2 separate regions of the Homo sapiens genome follow, and region 1 is linked to region 2. Evidence: promoter capture Hi-C in 16 types of primary human blood cells and fetal thymus (Javierre and others, 2016). All regions are on one chromosome and are shown on one strand. The core of a region is centred on a gene start or on the middle of the fragment in contact, and the rest is flanking DNA. Distances in the headings are between cores, read along the strand shown.

Region 1 (5,891 bases), core at 236-2,735, 120 kb before region 2:
AAATACATCTGTTGACCTCTAAAGTTCAAACAATTGCAGGGCTAACTGCATCCAACCATAGCTGGAGATGAATTAAAATTGATATTCTATAGTCGTCTATCAAATAAAAATAATAAAAGCTAATAAAAAATAATAATAGCAAAGACTTACATAGAGCTTACCCGCTGCCAGGCACTAATCCAAGTACTTTGGATATATTAACTCATTTAATCTTCCCGTCAACCCCTTGAGGTAGGTGCCATATACAAATGAATATAAACTTGGTTATGTTTAAAGAACAAAAAGCTTCATAAGCTTTTTGGTAAAATAAGCTTTGGTGGTAAAATAGGATAGAGGTAGGTGATAGTTTTGAAAAGGAATCTGAGTCCACATATCCTATAACATAGGATGTTGCCGTATATATTGCTGGGGCAAATATTTATATGAAGAAAACATACAAGGATAGCTTATCGGCATTTTTTTAAATAGCCTTGTTCATAAATTTCCACTGAAGAGAATACTAATCTTTGTAGAGAGAAAAGTAAGATCTAAAAGAGATTAGAGAAAACAAGAGGATACGTGATAAAAAGTGAAAAGACCTCATAGCGGCTAAAAATTTATCACCAACTGGAGGAAAATTGCACTCAAAGAGCCTAAAATCTAAAACAAAACAAAACACTGGGCTGGTCCCTTCTTGGAAATGATAATCTTTATTACAGCTTTTCCTTCCTGGGATTCTTCCTAATGCTAATTCCTAGTAGCTAAAATAATAATAAGGGAATGGAAGATGAGGCGAAAGGAGACGTTTCTGTATTCCATTATATTCCAGTAAAGGGAGGGCAGTGGGGAGGGAATGCCTCAGAGATCTAGAAAGAAAGAGGAAAGAGAAACAGCAAAAAAAGGTTTCTGTATCTGTTTCTTTTACCTTCTCACCCATTTGGAACAAAAGGGAGGTGGTCGGGGTAAGATCAGGTTATATTCCAAAGCCACCAGCCATTGGATGGCCTGGAAATGGGAAAGCCAAGCTGATCCCATTCTTTCCTCCACAGCTAACAGAGAGGCAGGGAAAGCGACCAGCCTTACCAGGCTGCAATTCTTGACCCTGTGCCTTCTCCCACACCATCCTGAAGAAGCCACTGACTTCCATCCACCAGAACTGCTTCTCTGCTCTTGCACTGAAACCTCCTGCCATTTTAAGGACACGGCCCTGTAGGTCACCTTAATCTAGTAACTCACAGTCATTTATTTGGCTCTACTATCAAAGAGAATTTTTCATCGGTAAGAAATGGCACTGTTGGGCAGCGTTGTCAATTTGTACTGCTGAGTAAAGAGATTTCAAACGTCTAGGATTAATATTTGTGATATTTACCCTAGGCTAGTCCCAGAGTTAGATTTTAGGCTGGGCGCAGTGGCTCACGCCTGTAATCCCAGCACTTTGGGAGGCCAAGGTGGGCAGACCACCTGAGGTCAGGAATTTGAGACCAGCCTGGCCTACGTGGTGAAACCCCGTCTCTACGAAAAATACAAAAAAATTAGCTGGGCGTGGTGGCGCATGCCTGTGATCCCAGCTACTCGGGAAGCTGAGGCAGGAGAATCGCTTGTAGCCAGGAGGCGGAGGTTGCAGTGGGCCCAGATCGCGCCACTGCACTCCAGCCTGGGCAAGAAGAGCGAAACTCAGTCTCAATTAAAAAAAAAAAGAATCTTTAAAAGTGTTTTTGCATGGTGTTTACAGGTTTCTGACCTTTTAGAATCCTATCACATGGTAAGGACCAAGCATTTTCTGACCAAACACTTTTTCAAATAAGGTAGGTTTATCAGGAACACGGTTTACAGCCTATCATTCCCTTTTGACATTGGTCCCTGAAGGAACTACGAAGTGGAACTGTGAGCTGGTAAGAGATGAAAAAGCAAATGACAGGTCTTACTCTTTTTTTTCTCTCACAAGTTAAAAGCCTGCCTTTATATTGATTTTCAGATGCTGAATATACATAGTTCATCTTCCAGATAATCTCAATGTGTCTTACTCCAATAAACAAATAAAATTTATGAGAATGGAAAAAAAGAGATGAATTTTTATCTGTAAACAACCTTTATACACGCGCACACACAAACATTAACCTGATCTGCAACTGACTCCTTGCGATAAAAGACACTTCTGTCAGGCACTGACCTGGCAGCCTTTACAGGGATGTGGATCCATGTGTATTATTTCGCCACCACGAAAACTCTTTACCAATTAATCTGACAGAAAAGGGACCGCAAAATTGTTCATAAATTATAATTTGCATATTTGGCTTAATCTTAAAACCTTTGCATATCTAAAAGGGTCATCTTTCCCAAATTCCAATACCTTTTAAACTGTGATTTAATGTTACAGTTAATTTCCGTGACTTTGAGTTCTTAATATAATAGCATGATAGATACCCAACATATAGTATGTATCTGCACTACTGTACACATGCTCAAATCTGACAACACCTAATGCTGAGACAAAACATCAGCCTGTGCCTATTGTTACAAGTCATGTGCATTTTGGTCCCTAGAATTTTGGTTTACTAAATGGGAATTGCCAGGAAGGCAGAGAGTGGTCAAATTTACGAACCAACAAGCCCCAGGCTCCCACAGGCCTTGTGCTGCACAGGAAGTGTCTCTGTTTTTTGTTTTTTAATTTTCTATAGGACAAGCTTTCCCGCTGCCCTCCCATTCACAGATGTTCCCGATCCTGACCCACTTTCCCTAGTCTGTACTACAGTCCAGTGGAGAATGCACTCTCTCAGCCTTTGTCTGTGGGCAATCTTATTCTTAGCAAGAGATCTTTTCCTATAATTTTTTTTGTCCTCCATTAACCATGCTGACCAATGTTTAAGAATCATTACATTAGTTGGTTCTTCCATTCAACTGTAACATGCTATAATAATATTTTAAACATCACTTCACTAAATTCTCCCTAAGTCAAGGAAACTATTCTGAGCAATCCAGGCACAAGATTTAATTGCATTGATTTAATTCAACAAATACATAAAGAGTACCTGCTGTGCACCAGGAACTATTCTAGGAGTCAAAGATACAGAAGTGAATAAAGAGACAAAAATCCCTGTCCTTAAGGAGCTGACATCTGAGATGCTTGCCTAGATTCATAAGAATCTGGGAAGGTACTTAGATTCACAGGAATTTTATCAGTTCAAGCTAAACTCATTTGGGATAGAATGTATCTTCTCATAATATCATTAATTAGACATTCTAGGACTGGGCTTACCACTGGTTTAGCAAATGGCTGGATGGTATAGAAAATTAAGCAACTTTGGTTATCCAGAGAAATTGTTTTCAACTTAGACTGTGTGGAAATAGGCATTGCTTTTATTGGGTGCTTCCACATCCAAAAAATTTTGTTTTCCATTGCAAAGAGGTAATTTTACCCTTACATGTATGAGAGTACCATCAAATCTACAACATAAAGTGAAGGAACAAAGAAAAACGTCATTCTTGATTCTCTACTATGCTTCACTTAAAAAAATTAATGTGTACCACAAATATGAGGGCACTGGTTAGTTCTAGACTTTATTGAAATGGGCTCATTTCACTTGATCCTAACCTGCATATCTGGCATTCAGCAGAAGGAACAAATTTAAATCAGATGTTTTGACTGGGGTGACTGGAAATTTGTACCACTGTTAAGCACACCTATACACACACACATATTTATGTTTGTGCCGTATGGTGTTTTTTAAATGTCAGCGTTCATTGAAAGTGAATATGTAACTATATGTATATTTGTTGGTATAGTCATATTTGCTTTTTAATTCCTTCTTTTCATCGGGGTAGATCAGTTTAAACAATTTAAAAATTAGAACCAAGAAGTTTTATTTAAAGAAATACTATTTAAGTGCATTGCTAACTAGAAATAAGTCAATAAGTGTTGCCCAGTAATACGTTTTTAAGATGTCTACTTGAACTTATTTTGTTGAGTATGTTCATATACTTACAACAGTTTCATAAGGTCTGCTCATGTTAGGAAAAATCCTTTAAGATCAGTGAAAACAAAAAAAATGCCAAAATATTTTGAAACGGGGTGCATTTGATAAAAATATCAAGCTATTTCTAACTTGAATTAAGGGAAATGAATGACATAATGATCCCATTAAACAATATACATGAGGCCAGCCGCAGTGGCTCAAGCCTGTAATCCCAGCACCTTGGGAGGCCGAGGCAGGCAGATCACTTGAGGTCAGGAGTTCAAGACCAGCCTGGCCAACATGGTGAAACCCCGTCTCTATTCAAAAAGTAGCTGGGCATGGTGGCAAGTGCCTGTAATCCTGGTTAACTTGGGAGGCTGAGGCAGGAGAATTGCTTGAACCCAGGAGGCGGAGGTAGCAGTGATCCAAGATTGCACTGCTTGCACTCTAGCCTGGGCGACAGGGCTAGACTCTGTCTCGAAAAAAAAAAAAAAGTGTGTGTGTATATATATATATATACACATATGTCATATATATTTATATATATGACATATATGTCATATATATTTATACATATCTGACAAATATATATTTTGTTATATATATAAAGTGTGCATATATATATATATATATATGACAAACAGACCCAAAAAACTTTACTTTGATGACTTTACCAAACAGAGAAAAGACATTGATTGGTTTTACTCAAGGTTTTCTTGTTTTGTTTTTTTTTTTTTGAGACGGAGTCTCCCTCTGTCGCCCAGGCCGGACTGCGGACTGCAGTGGCGCAATCTCGGCTCACTGCAAGCTCCGCTTCCCGGGTTCACGCCATTCTCCTGCCTCAGCCTCCCGAGTAGCTGGGACTACAGGCGCCCGCCACCGCGCCCGGCTAATTTTTTGTATTTTTAGTAGAGACGGGGTTTCACCTTGTTAGCCAGGATGGTCTCGATCTCCTGACCTCATGATCCACCCGCCTCGGCCTCCCAAAGTGCTGGGATTACAGGCGTGAGCCACCGCGCCCGGCCGTTTTCTTGTTTTTATGGGAGGTTGAGGAGTGGTTCAGGTGAACTAATGGCCTTAATGATTTTTACTATTGCTTCAGGTTTGGCTAAATACATCTAACCTCTCTGCCTGTTTGTGCACTGCAGTTTCTGTATATGCAGAGGACAGGTGTTTTTAGTATACTAAGCACTTTTCTAAAATGCAATTAATGATTCATTCTCATATTTAATCCACTTTAAACATTCCACCACTGAAAAAAGGTGAAAAGGGAGGAAAAACTTTTTTATGGAGAATTACAATGGAAATTTCTTCCTGCCTAAATTATTAAAAGTTCCAAATTAGTAAGTCTAAGTTCATTTTTATCATACATTACAGAAGTGATCTAAATCTCAAAAAAAAAAAAAGTCTACAGATGTTTTAGGCAATTACCTATTATGTAATGCCTCTTCAATCAGCCATATTTTATTGCAAGGAAGGGGTCTTAAAATAGAAAGTTTTGAAAAACAGGGAATTCTTATAAGTTTGGCAACCCAAAAAATTTTATTTTGGAGCTATTCAATGAGAAAAAGAAGATAAAAGAATTAATGTTGTATAGAGTGAAAAACAAGTTTTGCTTGTGAAATTTAAGCTTTGGTTTGGTTTCTACGAGGTAGAAAATAACCTGTTATATTTTATGTGTCAGAGGACATAAATTATGAGTGTTATAGGCTGTAGGTGACAGACATACCTGGAAGGTCAACGAGACTCAAGATCTCTGTTGTCTCAGCATGCTCCCTCTTCCCAGCCTCCTGTATGCAATCAGTCGTCCAGTTCATCAGTTCTTTCTTCCTCTTGCCTACAGTTCTCAGTTTCCTCCCATTCACTTTACTCCTGTCCAAGGCCAGCACTTAGGACTTCACACTTGTATTTCTAAAGTGACCACCACATCAGCTTCCTGTCTTCATTGTCTCATGAACT
Region 2 (5,664 bases), core at 2,614-5,113:
TTAACAATCACACGTTCTGCCCTTCCTCTCCAGTTTCCTTGAGGCTTCTTGAACATCTAGTCTCAATCCACCACACTACGCACACTGTCGTGTCTATGTTAGCACCTTGAAATCTGTGCATAGAAAGCTGAAAATGATGGCTACTCTGAAACATTGCCCAAGATACAACCTTCTTGATTAGCTCCTCAATATGCCCAAGACAGAGCCATACTGACTTATTTCGTGGCTCTTAGCTGGTGCCTAATGCAGTGAAAACCCCTTTTAAACAGCACTGACTAGGTATGGCTGGGAGAGTTTCTAGGAGGGAAACACGCTCAGACATCTCCAAGTTTTCTCGTAATTTGGGAAAATATAACCATTAGGAAGTGTTCTCTTAAGCGTCTGGAGACCTTGCACAAGTTACCCCCAAAAGCACAATAAAATCTAGGTGAAAGAATAGAAGAAATCAAAAGCTATCACAAAATAGAGGCCTAAGCACCTCTTTAAAAAGCAGGAACAGCTAGAAAAGTAGATTTAGCATTTGGACATTCAGGGTTTACCAGACCTATTTGCAATACTAATTAGTCTTAAGTTGGCCCTCCTTTGCAGTCCTTTAGCTGGTAAACTGCTAGAAAACATGGATTACACCTTGTTATTAATATAGAAAAGCCCTGGTGCAGGTGGCAGAGCCATGAGCAACCTGAATGCCATGATTAGGGTCATGACGAGAGCAATTCCAGTATCTGAAACTCACACAGAAGCAAGCCTCACAGGCAAATACCCAGATGATAGAGGCCCTATATCCAATGCCAAGAGTCAGATGCTACAGCGCAGAAGCAACAAATTCTTCCAAAAGAAATGATTCATACAAATTAATTGTTTTCTAATGTCCTTTAATTATAATTAAAGAGTTTGAGCATCGACTTTGGTTTTTTAATTAAGCCCAACTTTAGCTTATTTTTCTATATTCTGAAATTTAGACATTCAATTCATGTATGTTCTATTAAAAGACATGTCAACTTATATCAGAATATAAATTAATATTAACACATATAAATGATATATACTGAATAAAAGAACATTTTAAAATAAAAGCTACTCAAATGTGTATAATATGAAACAATGAAGAATTCACCACAAAAAGTAATTTATTGGAGCCAGGTGCAGTGGTACATGCCTGTAGTCCCAGCTACTTGGGAGGCTGAGGCAGGAGGATTGCTTGAGCCCAGGAGTTTGAGGCCAGCCTGGAAGCACAGCAAGACATTGTCTCTAATTTTCTTTAAAACTCACTTTTAATTTAAAAACTTTAAAAAAGTAATTTCAAAAAAATAAAGACGTTTAAAAATGTATTGGTCATCACATGACTTTATTCTTATTTGTCCTTTGCAAGAATCCAGATTATATGACACATATATACTTACTCATGCACAAGGCAAACTGACTGACCACATCACTCCTATGTAGAGGAGAAGGTACAGGTTTTTTGTCTGTCTCTTTGTTTGTTTTGTAGAGAGACAGGGTCTCTCTATGTAGCCCAGGCTGGTCTCAAACTCCTGACCTCACGTGATCCTCCAGCCTTGGCCTCCCAAAGTGCTAGAATTACAGGCATGAGCCACAGTGCCCAGCCATAAGGTACAGGTGTTTTTGTTGTTGTTGTTGTTGTTTTGAGACAGAGTCTTGCTCTGTCGCCCAGGCTGGAGTACAGCGGTGCAATCTTGGCTCACTGCAACCTCCGCCTCCCGGATTCAAGCGATTCTCCTGCCTCAACCTCCTGAGTAGCTGGGATTACAGGCACGTGCCACCACACCAGCTAATTTTTGTATTTTTAGTAGAGACAGAGTTTCACCATGTTGGTCAGGCTGGTCTCGAACTCCTGACCTCGTGATCCACCCGCCTTGGCTTCTGAAAGTGCTGGGATTACAGGCGTAAGCCACCGCGCCTGGCCAAGGTACAGGTGTTAAAGAGGCAATACCATTATTCCATTTAATGGACCCTCTTTTAAAAGAGTAATAATAATAATAAAGGACTGTAATAAGCATTGTTTAAAAAAAAAAAAAAAAAAGGAAGCCACACATATTCAAGGCATTCCAACCCCCAAAAGGTTTACCAACTACTTGAAAGGGGCCCCTCTTAAATGTGAGGTCTCTTCCCTCATACACATGCCGTTTCTTCCTTAGTCAAGTCAGCCCCTCCTCTTCCATACGTTTCATCCACTGCCTCTACTGACACCATCCTATTGTAAACCCTCTAACAAAAAGCCAGGAGCTTCCAGTTGCCAAATCCCAGGAGACTGGTCCTTATCTCGCTGCATGTGATTATGCTGACTATATTCTCCTTAGTGTTTACTACACCACTCTCCTGGTGCTCCTCGCCAACTGGACTGTTCCTTTTTCATCTCCTTTGAAGGATCGCCTCCTTCAGAAATACACTGAATCTTGTGTTTCCCAAAGTTCCTGCCATTGTTCTTCTCTTTTCCTGCTATACGTGCTTTGCCAATTTCATCCACTCTGAAATTTCAGCCATCTGCAATGTCTATACCCGCAACCCAGACCTCTGGCTAAACTCTAGTCCTATACATCCAAATGACTACCAGACATCCCTTCAGAATGGACCATAAATACACCCATTAAACGTCGCATGTCCAAAACCAAACATCTTCCCTCCAAAACCTAAATTGGCTAGTAACACCATTTTCCAAGCCAGAAAACTGGAAGTCATCCCTGATTTCTCTCAGTCCCCCCTGTCTACTCAATGGACTCCTTAATATATTTTGAAAATGGTCTCCTATCTCCATCTCTACCCACTACTCACCTACTTGAAGCCCTTCAACATCTTCTGCTGAGTATTCTGTAACATCTTCACCGACCTCCCTCCACCCAGTCTTGGTCTCAAACCTATCTTTCGTATGGTCATGATGACATCACACCCTCGTTTATAATCCTTTGATAGTTTCTCTTCTCCTATGTCATAGGGCTTATGCTTCTGAGCGTGGCAGATAAGGCCCTCCACGTCCTAATGCCTTGCCTCTCTCACCAGCCTCTTCTTCCACCACTTTACGTCCTGAGCTTTCTGTTTCAACAGCACCAAAACACTCATGATTCCCTGCTCATGCCCTGTGTTTTGTACCTTCATCCTCCATCCATGGAGCCCTCAGGTTCTTGCAGGGGAGGGGCAGTAAACCAGATGGTTGTCACTTCAATGTTTAGCCCAGCATCTGGCTCCTAAGCGGTGCCATGTGGCCAGTCAGTGATAAATGATGGGAGACAGTATATGGTATGTCCAAAAGGAGTGACAGAAAGTGTGGAGGGAATTTGGACTCACATTGATAGTCACTGCAATGGGGCCTAAACATGCTAAGCACCTTCCACACGAGAGGTATAGAGAGCCAGCAAAAGCTCGACTCTTCCATCTAACAAGCACCACAAACCTAGAGTCATGCTCTACTTTTTTGGAGAAAACATGTTGGCTTCCCACTGAGCCTGCCATCATGAGGCACAATAGTGGGCATCTTGGTGGTTTGCTAATAATAACAGCTGATATTTATAGAAGGCTCACTGTGGATCCAGAACTTTACTGAAAATTCTACAAGAACTGTATCTCTCAGTCCTCACATCAACACTATGAGGAAGGAACTACTGTTACCCCTGCTTTACAGGTGGGGAAATGAGGCCCAGATACCAAGTAGCTGTACTAAAAGCACAGAGATTTAACCTCCTGGACCTTATTCACCAGAACGCAAGCCAAACCTCCATATACATTTTACTTACTTCCCAAAATTTTATGTGTACATCAAGAGCTGATCATAAATAGAAGGTCAAAGTGACCTATTGTGACATCAAATCTTGGAGCCACTTTAATGTGACTTCACTAAATTGCCTTCGTCCAGTGCCTCACAGACAGCATCCCAGCACATCATGGAGAGCTAAGTGACAGAACAGGCAGCTCCTCTTCTCCCTGGTGAGGCCCCTTCTGCTGTGCCCTGGCTCTCTTTTGCCCCTCATTTGTCCATATTCCTCTCTGGTTTGCTCCAAACTCCTCCTCCTACCTTCAATTAAGATGGTGCTTTAGAACAATACAAGGTAAGATCTCTTCTTCATAAAAACAGAGAACTCATCACACCTCAGGAGGTGCAGAAGCCAAAAATACTCATAGGTTTGAGAAGAGTTTAGATACAGTCACAGATGAGCGAAGATGAGGGCAGTATGGAGCTCAGAGAAGAACCATGTGCTGAGGAACAACCTGCAGGGCTAAAAATCAACTAAGTCCATGGATATGTATGGAGCACCTGCAATATCCAAAGTACTATTTCAGACCCAGCAGCACCCCTGCCTTTAAGGAGCCCCAAGCTCTGACCACTACTTGGGTTCTGTTAGGGAATGTCAGCTCAGAGCTCCCCATGGGCAATGGGATCTTTGCAGCAGGAGTATCCTTCTAACACCAAGGACTTGGAGCTCTTGGAAAGCACTCTGTGTGTCAAAAAAGGGTGCACCCACACAGGCTATCCCCACACAAAGGCAGCTGCAGTGGTCCTCTAGATGTGTGCTCAAGCCCAGAGAAGACTTTGACTGTGGCAATTTGGGAGGGAAACAAATAAAGTAGACAGTATATCTTCACAACAACCATCGCTAGTGGGCCACATGCAGGGCAAGAGAAAGAACTAACACCCCAGCAAGCCAGAAGCGTCTCCCTGTCCTTGAGGTCAGGGCAGAGTGGAGAGACCCAGGCAGGGAGTAAATGGAACAAGTAACAACTAGGTGTGAACCTTCAAGATTTCCCTTCCATCACGCTCCACTAGCATAGGTAGTCTTCCGAAGACCTAAATCCACTGGTCTCCTTCTAGGACCAACATCGAGAGGTCATCAGAGTCGTAGTCACACAGCCTCAGGAGCAATAATGTCCAGGTTTGAATCCCTGTTCCACCATTCATTAACTGTGACAAATCAACAAAACTCTCGGGGGACTCAGTAGCCTCATCTTTTAAATGGAAACAATAATTAGACGAGCCTCAGAAGGTCATTGTGAAAACTGAAAGAGATGATAACATGCAAAGCATTTAAAAGTGTCTCACACTCAGAAAATGTGAGCTGTTAGTATTATCACTTTTTTCCATCAGTGGGACCATGGAAGCCCCCTTCTAGGCCATGACAAATTGTGGACCCCACGTAGATGCTATATGCAGGAATAACTTAGAACACAAGTTGTCCCGTTTGAAGGTCAAACCAAAATTCTACAAAGAAGGTGACTCTAAATCCCCCCTACCCCCAATTCTTATGCATACCTTCTTTGCATGAGACACTTATTTTTGATCAAATTAAATCAAAACTGATTTCAGCTGCAGCACATAGTTTTAAAAGGTAAAGCAGAAGAGCAGGTAGATTTTGCCTGCTTGATAATTTCCCTTGGTTCTCTGAAAAGACAGGCTGAGTCTCAGTCTGCCAGAGAGACCAAACGTGTAGAAACGAAAGGAAGAACAGAAATTTTCAGGCTGCTGCGCAATCCATACAGCAACGAAAAGACCCCAAGTCTAACTGGTGATTAAGAATCAAAACAAAACGGCCGGGCGCGGTGGCTCATGCCTGCAGTCCCAGCACTTTGGGAGGCCGAGGCGGGCGGATCACGAGGTCAAGAAATCGAGACCAGCCTGGCCAACATGGTGAAACCCCATCTCTACTAAAAATACAAAAA

The links. Contacts are between HindIII fragments. The CHiCAGO score rates a contact against its expected background, and 5 or more counts as called.
Region 1: a contact is called between a fragment that was not itself captured here and the fragment with the promoter of MAML3-AS1 in region 2, in 1 of 17 cell types (naive CD4 T cells). The highest score is 5.1, in naive CD4 T cells.

What each region holds. Positions count from the first base shown.
Region 1 is chr4:140,006,687-140,012,577 of GRCh38, forward strand. All of the region lies in intron 1 of MAML3 (mastermind like transcriptional coactivator 3), which reads right to left. It overlaps LOC124900783 (a long non-coding RNA gene), which reads left to right and starts at 4,949. Exons shown (of 3, transcript XR_007058278.1): 1 at 4,949-5,891. The HindIII fragment of the contact is 2,352 bases long and covers 310-2,661 here.
Region 2 is chr4:140,124,152-140,129,815 of GRCh38, forward strand. MAML3-AS1 (MAML3 antisense RNA 1) reads left to right here and starts at 3,864. Exons shown (of 5, transcript NR_147610.1): 1 at 3,864-3,936. All of the region lies in intron 1 of MAML3 (mastermind like transcriptional coactivator 3), which reads right to left. The HindIII fragment of the contact is 9,535 bases long and covers 1-5,664 here.